Regions from separate parts of the Homo sapiens genome. Here region 2 is linked to region 1. Evidence: promoter capture Hi-C in 16 types of primary human blood cells and fetal thymus (Javierre and others, 2016). All regions are on one chromosome and are shown on one strand. Each heading gives the region's core, a stretch centred on a gene start or on the middle of the fragment in contact. The rest is flanking DNA. Distances are from core to core; before and after follow the strand shown. Region 1 holds the start of ZNF750 (zinc finger protein 750). Region 2 overlaps LOC101929650 (a long non-coding RNA gene).

Region 1 (6,230 bases), core at 2,706-5,205:
CTCTGTCTTTCTAATTTCCCCCTATTAGAAGAAAGAACGTGAAATAATTCTTTATGGGCTCAGTCCCTACCGTGTGGGGCAGACCTGCTCTGGGTGATGAAAGCAGTTTCCCTGCCTCCCTTCAGGAAGTAGAGAAGCCGGGTGCCTGGTTCCAGCCAAACGCTGGGCCAGCCAGCTCAGTCAGTGGGGCCTGTGCCGGCATGCCTCGCCGCGCTCCCTGGTTCTGAAGGCGTGAGAACCTCTGCAAGTCAGGTTCCCATGATTGTATAGGATGTGTTACGGCAGGGATCTGAAAGCTGATGATTTCATCACTAGCTGGAAGCATCAGGATCGAAACGATGACAGTTGCAAAATGTTCATCAAGTGAGAGCTGCGTCCTCGCGAGACCGAAACGCCGCCTCTAGCACCTGAAACACAAGCCCTCAGAGGAGCAGATGATTCCCTCAGGATTTAAGAAAATTGAGGACTTCAGTTTTCGAAGCCGCATTATTTCACATTGCTGATACCTCTAGCGCCTGAAACACAAGCGCTCAGAGGAGCAAATGATTCCCTCAGGATTTAAGAAAATGAGGACTTCAGTTTTCGAAGCAGCATTATTTCACATTGCTGATACTTTTAGGCAAAAAAAAAAACAAAACAAAACAAAACCAAAAAACAAAAAAACAAAAAAACCCACAAAACCCGTGTTGGTTAGATTTTCTCAAAAGCTTTACAACAGGCAGGTTACGTGTAAGCTCTGCTGTTGCCCAAAATAGTAATTAGGGAAATAATTGCTTTTAAATGAATATGTCTGTTTTCTAGTCAGATTTGCCCTTTTGTTCTTTGATCAGTTAGTTCACGTAAGCGGGTGTGGCAGGGAGGAAGCCCCTGGTGGTGAGAGTGTTTGGAGCTCAATTGCTCGAAGGGAATTGGTGTCGATATGGAGTCTCGGGCAGTGGTTTTAGTAACCTTGGATAAACCGACCTCTCAGGCTTGCACAATTTGCTAATTAAAACAGGGAGCACAGCTGCTTCAGTTGTAAGCCGGGCGTAGGTCACCTGATCTGTAAAACTACAATAGTGTCAGAGAAGTAAGTGGGATAACATTGTTGCTTTGGTAAGCTTTCAAATGATGATGATGTCAGCCTGTGAGTTCTGTGTCCTGCTTAAGTGAGGTTTATAAGGATGAAGAAACCAAACCCGACGGCCAGTACCTCAGGCTGTCACAGCTGTCTGTGGGCACAGCGTTTGAAATAGTCTCTGTGTGGTCAGTTTCTACCAGCCCGACTTTGTACTCTGGCAGCTGCTGGTGTTAAATATTCCCAAAAGAGTATGTTGTTGCCCAAACAGTGTAACCCAGAAATCTAGCTGTTTACAGTAATTTGGATTTGTATTTAGAGGTGCAGTTTTTCTCTAGAGGGGATAAAGAAGTGCGGAGCGTCTTTCTCTCCTGGGGGAGGTGTGTTTCCATTTTAGTTAATAACATGCCCGGAGAGCTGTCTGTCTGTCTGTTAATAAAGCAGAGTCTCATTCATTATCTGCTTTCATTTGAGAACTGCAGTGCTAGCGTGTTTTACAGTGAAGACCTCGGTGTGATCCTGAAGGAGGGTTTCATCCTCCTCTCATTTCCCACTGGATCGGCAGGAAGCGTTAGCAGGGTGGACATGCCACAGAGCTTCCAGATCTGGATCAAAGGTGGCTGTTGCTGAAATACTTATGCAGAGTCTTCCCTGACTGCTGCTGGCTAATGTGTGCCCTCTTCTCCAACACACCTCCTCCGAGCCTGGCCTGGCACAAAGCCTTCTTTCTCCAAGTTATTTCAGATCAAGCAGCCAATGTAGACAGTGTCTACACTAAAGGGCGTAAGAACAGTGGGGTGCAGTGGCTTCAAACATGCTCAGGATCCAGCTGAGCTTTCACCAGGCTTTTCTTGCCATATTTACAGATGCCACTCTGTGCCTTTCTAAATATTTTAAATGTTGTGTGCTCAGCCGATGCACTTGGCTTCTGGAAAGTGCGCTGAGCTGAGAGCTCGCTTCTCTTCCTGCTCAACGTGCACTGGGCCGGGTGTTGGGGCGTAGCTGCCCACACAGACAGTGCTTTGAAGAGTGAGTGGTTTCGGTTGGCCATGGGGTTGTGTCTAAATTGCCAATATACTGTCTTTCCAAAGGTTCCTAAGTGTGGACAGTTAATGCAGCAGACAGTTGTTAGGGTAATAGTGAGAAGTTGGGATGCTTAACAAGCTTCTAAGGAGTTTGAACTTTGAAAAATAGACAAGAGAAAGAGTTCTTAAAAAAAAAAACTTTGATAGGACACAGCGGAAGTAATTACAGTTTAACTTTATGGGACGTTTCTGTGACAGGCTGGGTAACTATGCTTGTCATGCGTCCTAACCTGTGCCCTGAGATTGTGCTGTAATGTTCCTTTTGGTGGTGTCCAGCTGTCTGGCAAGGAGCCTGCTCGGCTGGAGCATTGTGAAGGGCATGCTGTAATTACAATATTGTGATGTGGCGTTGTTGCATAACTCAAGGACACACCATTGTCGCCTACCCACTGTGATGTCGCAAGAACGAGATTTGTGAGTTTTACTCCAATTGAGCTTTTCCAGTGATTGACTGCCACTCCCTCCCAGCCTTTCGGTTCTTTAAAATGAAAGATAAACCTCAGGACAACCAAGACCTGGGGAAAAGACAGTCTTTGGGAATGTAATTTGGAAGAATGGATCCAGAAAAACAACCAGGGGCTCTTAACTCTAGTTTCGGCAGGAGATCCCGAGTTACAGACCTGAGCTCGTAAACAAACGCTCACCACTTTACAGTCGCCGCCTCATCCTGAAACTCCGGTCAGAAATGCTGGAAGGCCTTTGCTAATGCGCAGTGAAAATTAGGGGCACAGATGTGGACGGACTGTGCTTGGTCAGTAATTGTTCTCCTCCAAATCAAGTTTATGAGAAATTTCATATAAGGAAAAAAACCCTTTTGTATCTGTGTCTATATGTACAGAAGACCTTAACAACCAAACAGAAACTTAACCCCTTTGGTTTGGTTTTGTTTTCGAAAGCTTATGCCCAATTTTAAACTTCATGTAAGCTTATGTACTTATTTTAAACTTTAAAACTATTAAAAGTTAAACTAGATAGTAAATTCGGCACTGTCTAATGTGCATACACCACAAACATATAACCCTAAATTCAGCTGTGTCTAATGTGTATACACCACACATATATATAACCCTAAATTCAGCCTGATGTACTTATACCACACATATATAACCCTAAATTCAGCCTAATGTACATATACCACACACACATATATATAACCCTAAATTCAGCCTAATGTACATACACCACACATATATATAACCCTAAATTCAGCCCTAATGTACATACACCACACATATATAACCCTAAATTCAGCCTAATGTACATACACCACACATATATATAACCCTAAATTCAGCCCTAATGTACATACACCACACATATAACCCTAAATTCACCCTAATGTACATACACCACACATATATATATGACCCTTACCTCTTGTTAGCATTTATTGTAGTTTGTTTTTGAGGTTAGGAGCAGTTAAGCAATAATATGAATTTGTGTTGGTTTAACTTTTATGAATTTTAGGGCAGAACAAGGAGTTAATTTCCAGATAAGCTTGTTCATGTTCTTAGAATAAAGTGTCAGCCTCATTAGAAGTTTTGTAATCGTGGTCTGCATCCCAGCCATGCACCTGCTGGGTCCTGAGTAATCCTCGGAGCCCAGAGCAAGGCAGAGCAGACACGGAGCAAACGCTGCGTTCAGCTGGGTATTTTAGATACGTCTGAGAAGAGTTTTAAAATAAAACTTGAATTTGAAAAGAAATAGTGAGTACTTACCAGAGGTGGGCAGTGCTGGGATGTGGCCGGTCTTGGTGCCGGTGGCTGGCGGTGCTCAGGAAGCAGTACCTGTTCTCACGCTTGCTGGGTGAAACTGGAGCCTGCTGTTCCAGTGGGAGGGATTTAAGTGTAGGAGTTGAGCCCTCGGGGCGTAGAGATGCACCTGATATTCCTCCTGCCCGCAGCTACGATTCATGTGTTTGCACCCACCGAGCTGCTGCGGGCAGCCTCCCCAGCACTGGACCCAGCAAGCAAGTTATCTCGCCGACTCCCAGCGCTGTCTCCAGACTCAACTGTCTGTGAGTGCGGCGTCGGTGCTGCCTGGACGGCCATATGTCAGAGGGCTTTCGATGTGTCCGCAGTTAGAATAGAGATTACTATATTCATCAGAATCACACCCGATGAATATTTGGCGTCATGATAAAGACATGTGAGACTTTCCTTTAGAACTTGAGCATGTGTACGCAGGAGGCAAACACTTGGATTGATTCTCAAGCGCGCATACCCTGGGAGGCACAGTATTCATGGCGTCCTTGCCATGAGGTCCAGTGAGGCCTTTGAGGATCTGTGGACCTTCCACCCTCTACCCTGCTCCTGAGAGTCTCTGTCCCTGGTCCTCCTCAGGAGCTGAGCCGGCAGGGAGGGAGCTTATCCCAGAGCCTGGCTGCAGGGACCTGCCGGAGCTTGCCCGACACCAGGCACCGCAAGAGCTGCGGAGCAGGGTGTGTGGGTGCGGGGGAGGGGGCCAGCTGTGCACTCCCGCAAACCACCCTCCCCCCACTTTAAATTGCAGAGGCACTTAACTTGGGGGCCAGTTTTTACCTCCACACCCCCCCACCAAAACTGCTTGCTTGCTTAATCGGAGGCCGCACCCCAGTTGTAGCGAAGGCTGGCATGTGGTGTCGGTTTGAGGACTGGGAAAGGAGGTGGGATGAGCTGGTGTCAGGCCCTTGGATGAGCCTGAGGCTGCAGGGCAGAGGCTGCAGGGCTGTGGCATAGGGACGAGCTGGCCAGGACAGACAAACTGGTTTTTTTTTTTTTTTTTTTTTTTTTTTTTGAGACAGAGTTTCACTGTTGCTGCCCAGGCTGGAGTGCAATGGCATGATCTTGGCTCACTGCGTTTCTCCTGCCTCAGCCTCCCGAGTAGCTGGGACTACAGGCGCCTGCCACCACGCCCGGCTAATTTTTTGTATTTTTAGTAGAGATGGGGTTTCACCGTGTTAGCCAGGATGGTCTTGATCTCCTGACCTTGTGATCCACCCACGTCGGCCTCCCAAAGTGCTTGGATTACAGGTGTGAGCCACTGCACCCGGTCTGTTTTTTTGTTTTTGTTATTTTTTTCCTTAAGACTTAAGATTTTACATGGCTTTGCGTTTACTTTTATATTTAATTCCTTTTTTTTTTCTTTTGAGACAGGGTCTTGCCCTGTCACCCAAGCTGGAGTGCAGTGGTGCGATCACGGTTCACTGTAGCCTCAACCTCCTGGACTCGAGTGATCCTCCCGCCTCAGTCTCCCCAGTAGCTGGGACTACAGGCACGGTCACTATGCCTGGAGAATTTTTTGTAGAGACAGGGTTTTGCCATGTTTCCTAGGATGGTTTAATACCTTAAAATTTTTTTTGGTGGCTTTTGTCCATTGAGACATCCATATACTTTATGAAGTCAAAAAGAGTTATGTAAGTCTTATGACAAAAAACAGCAGTTCCCTGTCCCTCTTACCTATTCCTGGATAGCAAACTATCCCAAACTTAGTGGCTTAAAACAAGCACCGTTTTATTACGTCTTAGGATATATTGTGTCAGGAGTTTGTGGAGGGCCTGGCCGAGTGCTGCTTCTGTTTCATGGACACTGACTGAGGTGGCTCCGTGGGAGAAAGCTGGCAGGTGACTGGTCTGGAGGGTCCAGGACAGCTTTACTCACCTGCCTTCTGTCCTGGAGGGGCAGCTGGAATCCTGAGATCAGCTGGAACCTCATCCTCACTTAGTAGCACTTCAGAGGCCTCCCTAGCAGGGTGGTCAGCTGTATGATGGCTCAGGACTTCAAGAGAGCAAGGCGGAAGGTTCCAGTCCTCCAGAAGGCTGGGCCGCAGATTGTCAGGGTGTCCCTTCTGTCACCTTTCTCTGCTGAGGCAGCCTCGTGCTGCCCAGATGCAAGGCGGGAGCCGAGGGCTCCACCTCTCAGCGGCAGGAGTGCCAGGTGTCTGCGCTACGACTCCCTCTGCCCGGAAGCCCCACCTTGGCCTTTCCTAAGCTGAGTGTTCTGACCCTTGCCATGGAGGGTCCAGTGAGGCCTTTGAGAATCTGTGTACCTTCCACCCTCTACCCTGCTCCTGAGAGTCTCTGTCCCTGGTCCTCCTTGGGAGCTGAGACG
Region 2 (7,078 bases), core at 1,606-4,105, 330 kb after region 1:
GGCAGTGGCCAGGATGTGACCATGGTGAGACCAGGCCTTGCCAGAGCGTGGACTTGGCAGACACGGCTCCTCCCTTGTGTGCGGTGGGAGCTTTTGGTGCGTTCCTTACGTTGGAGCCGGCATGGAGAAGCAGGGCGGTCCCTGGGGACCAGCTCCTCATTTGCACCCCTCTTTTTAATTAAGTACATTGTTTATTTTTGGTACCTACTTGTAGCCTAGTTTAGGGCCCACCGCATATTCTAAAGTGATGCACCCAATGGTGTCCAGAGACAGACTAGCCTGGAGTTGGATGGGGGGCCAGTCTGGGGATGCAAAGGTCTAGAGAAGCCCAGGCCAAGGGCAGGCAGAGCAGGGTGGGAGTGGGAGCAGGAGGGGATGCTGGGGGCAGTGGCAGCACATGTGTCCCAAACCACTGCCTCCTAGGTGGGGTGGGACGGGCCCCAACACACCACCTGGCTGTGCCCCGTGTGGGGGTCAGGGGTGCAGCGAGGAGGGCTGGGTGAGCAGTGGGGTCAGCAGTGCGGCGAGGAGGGCTGGGTGAGCAGTGGGGTCAGCAGTGTGGCGAGGAGGGCTGGGTGAGCAGTGGGGTGAGGGGTGCGGCGAGGAGGGCTGGGTGAGCAGTGGGGTGAGGGGTGCGGCGAGGAGGGCTGGGTGAGCAGTGGGGTCGGGTGCGGCGAGGAGGGCTGGGTCAGCAGTGGGGTCAGCAGTGTGGTGAGGAGGGCTGGGTGAGCAGTGGGGTCAGCAGTGCGGCGAGGAGGGCTGGGTGAGCAGTGGGGTCAGCAGTGTGGCGAGGAGGGCTGGGTGAGCAGTGGGGTCAGCAGTGTGGCGAGGAGGGCTGGGTGAGCAGTGGGGTCGGGTGCGGCGAGGAGGGCTGGGTCAGCAGTGGGGTCAGCAGTGCGGCGAGGAGGGCTGGGTGAGCAGTGGGGTGAGGGGTGCGGCGAGGAGGGCTGGGTCAGCAGTGGGGTGAGGGGTGCGGCGAGGAGGGCTGGGTGAGCAGTGGGGTCGGGTGCGGCGAGGAGGGCTGGGTGAGCACTGGGGTGAGGGGTGCGGCGAGGAGGGCTGGGTGAGCAGTGGGGTCAGCAGTGCGGCGAGGAGGGCTGGGTGAGCAGTGGGGTGAGGGGTGCGGCGAGGAGGGCTGGGTGAGCAGTGTGGTCAGCAGTGTGGCGAGGAGGGCTGGGTGAGCAGTGGGGTGAAGGGGTGCGGCGAGGAGGGCTGGGTGAGCAGTGGGGTCGGGTGCGGCGAGGAGGGCTGGGTGAGCAGTGGGGTCAGCAGTGCGGCGAGGAGGGCTGGGTGAGCAGTGGGGTGAGGGGTGCGGCGAGGAGGGCTGGGTCAGCAGTGGGGTGAGGGGTGCGGCGAGGAGGGCTGGGTCAGCAGTGGGGTCAGCAGTGCGGCGAGGAGGGCTGGGTCAGCAGTGGGGTCAGGGGTGCGGCGAGGAGGGCTGGGTCAGCAGTGGGGTCAGCAGTGTGGCGAGGAGGGCTGGGTGAGCAGTGGGGTGAGGGGTGTGGTGAGGAGGGCTGGGTCAGCAGTGGGGTGAGGGGTGCGGCGAGGAGGGCTGGGTGAGCAGTGGGGTCGGGGTGCGGCGAGGAGGGCTGGGTCAGCAGTGGGGTCAGCAGTGTGGTGAGGAGGGCTGGGCGAGCAGTGGGGTCGGGGTGCAGCGAGGAGGGCTGGGTCAGCAGTGGGGTCGGGGTGCAGCGAGGAGGGCTGGGTGAGCAGTGTTGGCCTCTTCCCCGCTCTGCCCAGTACCTAGAGTGCTGCCACGTCTGGTGAAGGACTCAGTAAATACTTGGTGAAGGATCAGATGAAGAAGGAAAAGTTGTCAGTGCTGAGGCAGGAGAAGCCAACCTCAGCATCTGAGCCTGAGTGGTGGTGGGGCAGGGTCCTGCCCAGAGAAAGGTGATCCCCTTCCCGAGGGGAGGGCTGGCACGGTGCTCAGGAGCAAGGGCTGCAGGCCCACAGGACCTTTGTTCATCTGACCTGTGTCCCCATGCCAGGCTCTGTCCCAAGCGGGCTGAGGCAGATGGCCTAGGCAGCCGTCGGTGAACCCTCCCTGGCTCCAGAGCCTGTGCAGGCCCCGTGGGGGTCAGGCTGCTGTGGGGGGCTTGAGGACCCTCACTTTTGGCCCCTGGAGGCCCCGACGAGGCGGCCCTTGAGGTTCAACTGGACAGTATTCCCCTGACCCCTGAGCAGAGTGTGGCATCAAGACCCCGACAGTGAGGCCAGTCCCAGGCCGGGATTCGGTGCCCTCCTTTAATGTGTGTGCGAGTGCCCACAGGCCTCACTCAGCCTAGAGGAAGGTGGGCTTGCGAGCTGGGGCCTGTCTCATGCTTTGCCTCCGTGGCATTGGCTGCGCCTCACTCCTGCACTGTGGCTTCCATGTGTTGAAAGGCGAGTTCCATAGGTGAGAACAGCTCCCTCCCAGCACACCACCGGCCTTTGCTCGTGTACAGTATTTACCCAATGCCGGTGAACACGAGCAGCCTCCATATTCTTGCACCAAGGCTGGAGAAGGACCCAGCCTGCAACACAGCTCATGAGGCATCAGGGGCCAAGCACCTACCGTCTTGATGACTGGGGGATGGTGCCCAGGTCTGTCTGCCCCCACTGTCCAGTGGATGGTGTGGGAAGGCATTGCAGGCTGGCTGAGCAGGTTACATAACAGTGCACACATGGGTTTACTTTACTTGAAACCCTAAACCCTCTGCAAACAGCCCCCTCCCTAATCCCTCCCTGTTGACTCTGTAGATGAGCCCAGGGTGCTGAAAGATGCAGCTGCATGCCTCTGCAGCCAGGCCCAGGGCCTGCAACATCCTTCAGCCAAACGTGGGTCCCTGGGGAGCCTCTGTGGCCTCGCCGGTTTCGATGAAGGCCAGAGGACTGGCTGCACGGGTTGCCTCAGCTCTGCCTGCCTCTCTGTTCGTGCCTCTCTCCTACCTGGCGGGGGTGTCTCTGTTGGCCTCAGAGATGTCGCTGGTGCTCACCCTGGTCACACTGACCACTGGGCATCCTCCCACCCCCTGGGCCACTTCTGTCTCTGCACTTGGCTTCCCTGCCCACGGCGTGGCACCCAAACAAAGCCCACAGAGAGGCTGGCGCCCTCCTCAGCCAGATGCCTGCATTTAATAGAAGATGCAGAGACACAATCTAAGCCAAAGGAATGAATCTCTAGTGGTGAAATAGCATCTGGTAAGAGGAGAGATTTCTGAAAGGAGGCCCCTTTCTCCTTCTCGCCCCTCCTTGCTCTGGAGGCTGAGTCCAGCTGCTCCTCCCATGCCCCTGCCCAGAGGGCAACGTGCACCAGGGCCTGAGAGCACAGACAGGTCTAGGTGGGATCCGTGTCAGCACCGCAGGGCACACGAGCGACTCGGCAGGCTCCAGAGTTTGGCTCATTTTCTGCTTGGTCCCTTTTTGATGCCTGTGATTTATTTATAACAATAGTTTGCATAATTCCAAATGTGGTGACACAGCATGCAGACGCTGAGTGAAATGAAGACAGAACAGATTTTTCAGAGGGGTAGTGGTGTGGAGCAGGCTGGGCCGCGAGTGATAGAACTGAGCCCCAGGTTGTGCTCGGAGTCTCCTGGTGCCAGAACACTGGGCTTCCGTGGGACCTGAGGGGCTGAAACGGTGCTGGACCTGGACCCTTCCTCACAGTCACCCTCAGGTAGCCCATCTCAGACAGGAGGGGACCCCTTGTCCCCCATCCCCATGTTCGGAGCGTGCTGAGCTGCACACAGTCCTCCCTGGGTCTGAGACCGCTGGTCCTGCCCCCACCCCAGCTCTCTCCCCTCTGGGTCTTGGGTTTCAGCTGTGATGTCATCCTGCTTGCCTGGAGTCCAGAGGGGTTAGCTGGGGGGCTCTTGTTTGCCCAGAATTCCTTGTGGCTGTCCAGTCTCAGTGCCCACTGTGATGCCTGACCCTCCGTGAGAGCCAGCACTCAGGTCAGAGATCGTAACCTCCCGAGTGCTGAGTGTCTCCGGCGCTGCCCAAGCTCAGGGCATGTTTGTGTCTCAGTTCAGGGCATGTTTATGAATTGACAAATGAAGTTTTGGAAGAGGACAAGTTCACATACACTTGACCACCGAGAGATAGAGGGAGGGTTTCACATAGCTCTCTACCATGGGGGGGAGCGGTTTTCCCCTGGGGCCTAGTGTGTGGCCCTGTCCAAGCTCACCCAGCCTCCCCTTGAGGGAGCACCATAGATTCCGGATGCTCAGACCATGTTGGAAGCTCAGGCCTTTGGAACACCTCAGATCCTACTCCAGCCTTTCTAGAAGCTGGGGTTTAATATATCTTAGCAGATGGGAATGTCCTGTCACTCAGAGAAAAGGCTGGGCAAGGTCTCTCTGGGGATGAAACCACTTAGCGCTCTTCTTTTGGGGGATTTAAGCGCAAATGATTCAGAAACAGTCAGGCTTCATTTCTTGACACGGGGCTGGAGGAGGTGAGAAGGGCATTGACCAAATGAAATTTGGGTTTGGTCCAAGTCAGAAATGTGTGAGATGAATGGGGACAGGTTTCCCGAGCCCATTTAGGTCTGTGCACGGTTACCAACAGCAGCAGCAGCAGCGGAGGCTGGGGCACCAGGGTGGGGCTCCTGAATGGGACATGAAGAAGGGTTACCCCTTCTGCCATAAGCAACAGGCAGGGCAGATTTTACAAACGCGTTTTCTAGCATTGTTTCTTTCAGCCCAAAAGAGTTCTGTGAGTTCATCTTCAGAAATCAAGTTTCTGAGAGGTGGGGACATCCAAGGACACTGGAGATTGGGATGTCCGGGAAAACGGGGTCTTCAGGCCCGATCTCTGCCCACCTTCCATGCCCTTTCCCCAGCCTGCCCCTCCAGGGTGCAGCCTCCCCATGCCGACGAGGTTCCCTGGCACAAGCAGGCTGGTGTGCATGTCTGTGCTTTGGCTGCAGGAGCTGCAGAGAGGGTGATGTCAGGTCCATGTTGTGTAGAGAGAATTCCGACATCGCCCAGCAGGTGCTCGGGTGCCGTGTCCAGCAGCTTGGTGGGCTTCCTCAGCCCCTCAGACCCCCAAAACCATTTTCTTTTTTTGCATCCATCAATGTCCCGCACAGGAGCAGGCCCCTCCCAGGTGAGGTGGGCTTGGATGCAGGAGGGAAGTGGTAAAGACCCCTCCCAGAGACAATGCAGAATTGGCCTACACGGGTGGGGCATTGGAAGCCAGCTCTGGGGGTACTGACTCAGGAAGATGTGCCTCAGCTGAGCCCCGGGCATTAGGAATTGGCTGCAGGCATGGACAGTGGACACGGAGCAGGGAGGCCCAACGCTACCTGCCTACAGGGGAGCCTGGGACGTGGGCTTCTGTTCCGCAGCCTGCAGAGCCTGCTGGAGCCGGGCTGGTGTCGAGGACCACCTGGCGCCCAGCAGGTCCCCCTGCAGCTTGTTTTCTGGGAAAGCAATGGACTGAATGCCTGTGTCCCCCCAAATTCATGTGTTGAAATCAACCCTCAAGGTGATGGCATTTGGGGGTGCAGCCTTTAGGAGGTGATGGGGTCATGAGGGCGGAGGCTCATGAACGGGGTTACTGCCCTTACAGAAGAGGCCTAAGGGATGCCCCTCTCTTCCTCCACATGACACAGTGAGAAGGTGGCTGTCTGCAAGCCAGGAAGAGGGCCCTCACCAGAACCCAACTCAGCTGGTACCGTCTGCAGCTTCCAAACTCCAGAACTGTGAGAAATAAATGTGTGTTGTTATTAAATCGTCTTGGTGTTTTGCTAGAGAAGCCCTAGCTAAGGCACCTTCCGTTCTCCCACCTCTTCCTCCTGGGGCAAGGCCTGGGTGAGGCCCCATAAGCCAGCGAGTGGCTTCAAGCTGGTGGCACAGCCAGTTTCAAGCCGTCTCTGGGGTACGTGGCACACACAAGAGCCGGGCTGTGTAACCTGCAGCCCACGGCTCCACAGAGGGGCTGTGCCGCCCGGGGACACTTTCTCTGCAGGTCTCTGGCTTCAACCCTCCTTGCCGCTTGTGTGCCGGGATGCACTTTTGGGGCAGCTGGCAGCCTTTTAGCCTCAGCTCCTCTGTGGGGACAGAGCCAAGACTGATCGCAAGGCCAAGACCTAGGAGTCCAGGGGAGGCCCTCGGCTCTGTCCTTCCTGCCGGCCCGGCTCCTGCTCATTCCACTAACAGGCATCTCCCTGATGAAATCCTCGAGAGGTTAGTCCTGTCTCGGCGGCAGCTGCTCAGAGCACCGGGCTGTCCTCTGGCCCCTCCGAAAGCATGGCCCTGAATCACTGGGGGAGCCTCACCAGGCAGAGATGGCTCATCCCCATGGACCTGGGCCCCCGGGTCCCGGCCCCCCTGGCCTGGCCAGCACCTGACGCTGCTGTGAGGAGCATATGGTCAAATCTGCACCTGCTGCCGGCCACAAGGGAGGAGCAAGTGCTGAGTGCCCCTGGGCCACCTGACCAAGAGGTGTCCTTGTGTCCCTCGCCCCCTGCCCCAGACGTGCCTCTCGGGACCTTCAGGCCACGGTGCTATTTATTACCCACTTGAGGACAAACTCGGAGCCAACCCACAGGCCTATGTGGCAGGACTGGCCACACCTGGGCCCAGACACGCTGCAGCTTTGCGACTCCGGCCACAGATCCCGGGGACTGACTGGGGTTGCAGGCCTTGGGCCAGCCCCTGAACCTGGCCGTGCCTCACAGAGCTTTGGTGGGGATGACATGAGTGGATACATTCAAAGGGTTTAAAACGGCGCCTGGCACACTGCATCCGTGCTGCTGTGATTCTATTTGAGTTGGTGCTTTCCAGATCGGTTTCTCTCTGTGACGATCCAGAATCTGTGTTCCGTGCCCAGGCCCAGGAGTGAGGAGAGGCCAACAGGGAGGAGAGGAGGGCTCCTGCCTCAGGGAAACGGAGCCCGTGCAGGAGGTCCTGGCCGGGCAGCATGGGGCTCAGGACGGATGCCCGTGGCGGGTCACCCCCCACAGCAGTCACAGCCGGGGGGCCCCCAGGCCTCAGGGTTCCACGGAGCAGGTTGGGCAAGTGTGTTAGGACCATCAGCAACCTGTGTGCAGCCAAAGACAGCAAGGACAGAGCCAGGAACTCCGGCT

What was found. Contacts are between HindIII fragments. The CHiCAGO score rates a contact against its expected background, and 5 or more counts as called.
Region 2: a contact is called between a fragment that was not itself captured here and the fragment with the promoter of ZNF750 in region 1, in 1 of 17 cell types (neutrophils). The highest score is 5.9, in neutrophils.

What each region holds. Positions count from the first base shown.
Region 1 is chr17:82,836,067-82,842,296 of GRCh38, forward strand. It overlaps ZNF750 (zinc finger protein 750), which reads right to left and starts at 3,956. Exons shown (of 3, transcript NM_024702.3): 1 at 3,861-3,956. The region is part of intron 13 of TBCD (tubulin folding cofactor D); the gene reads left to right. RefSeq lists an enhancer at 1,487-1,988. The HindIII fragment of the contact is 6,856 bases long and covers 3,638-6,230 here.
Region 2 is chr17:83,171,887-83,178,964 of GRCh38, forward strand. All of the region lies in intron 2 of LOC101929650 (a long non-coding RNA gene), which reads left to right. It overlaps LOC124904105 (a long non-coding RNA gene), which reads left to right. Exons shown (of 2, transcript XR_007065981.1): 2 at 5,603-5,721. Among named protein-coding and RNA genes, the nearest start is that of METRNL, 96 kb to the left of the region's middle. The HindIII fragment of the contact is 9,987 bases long and covers 1-7,078 here.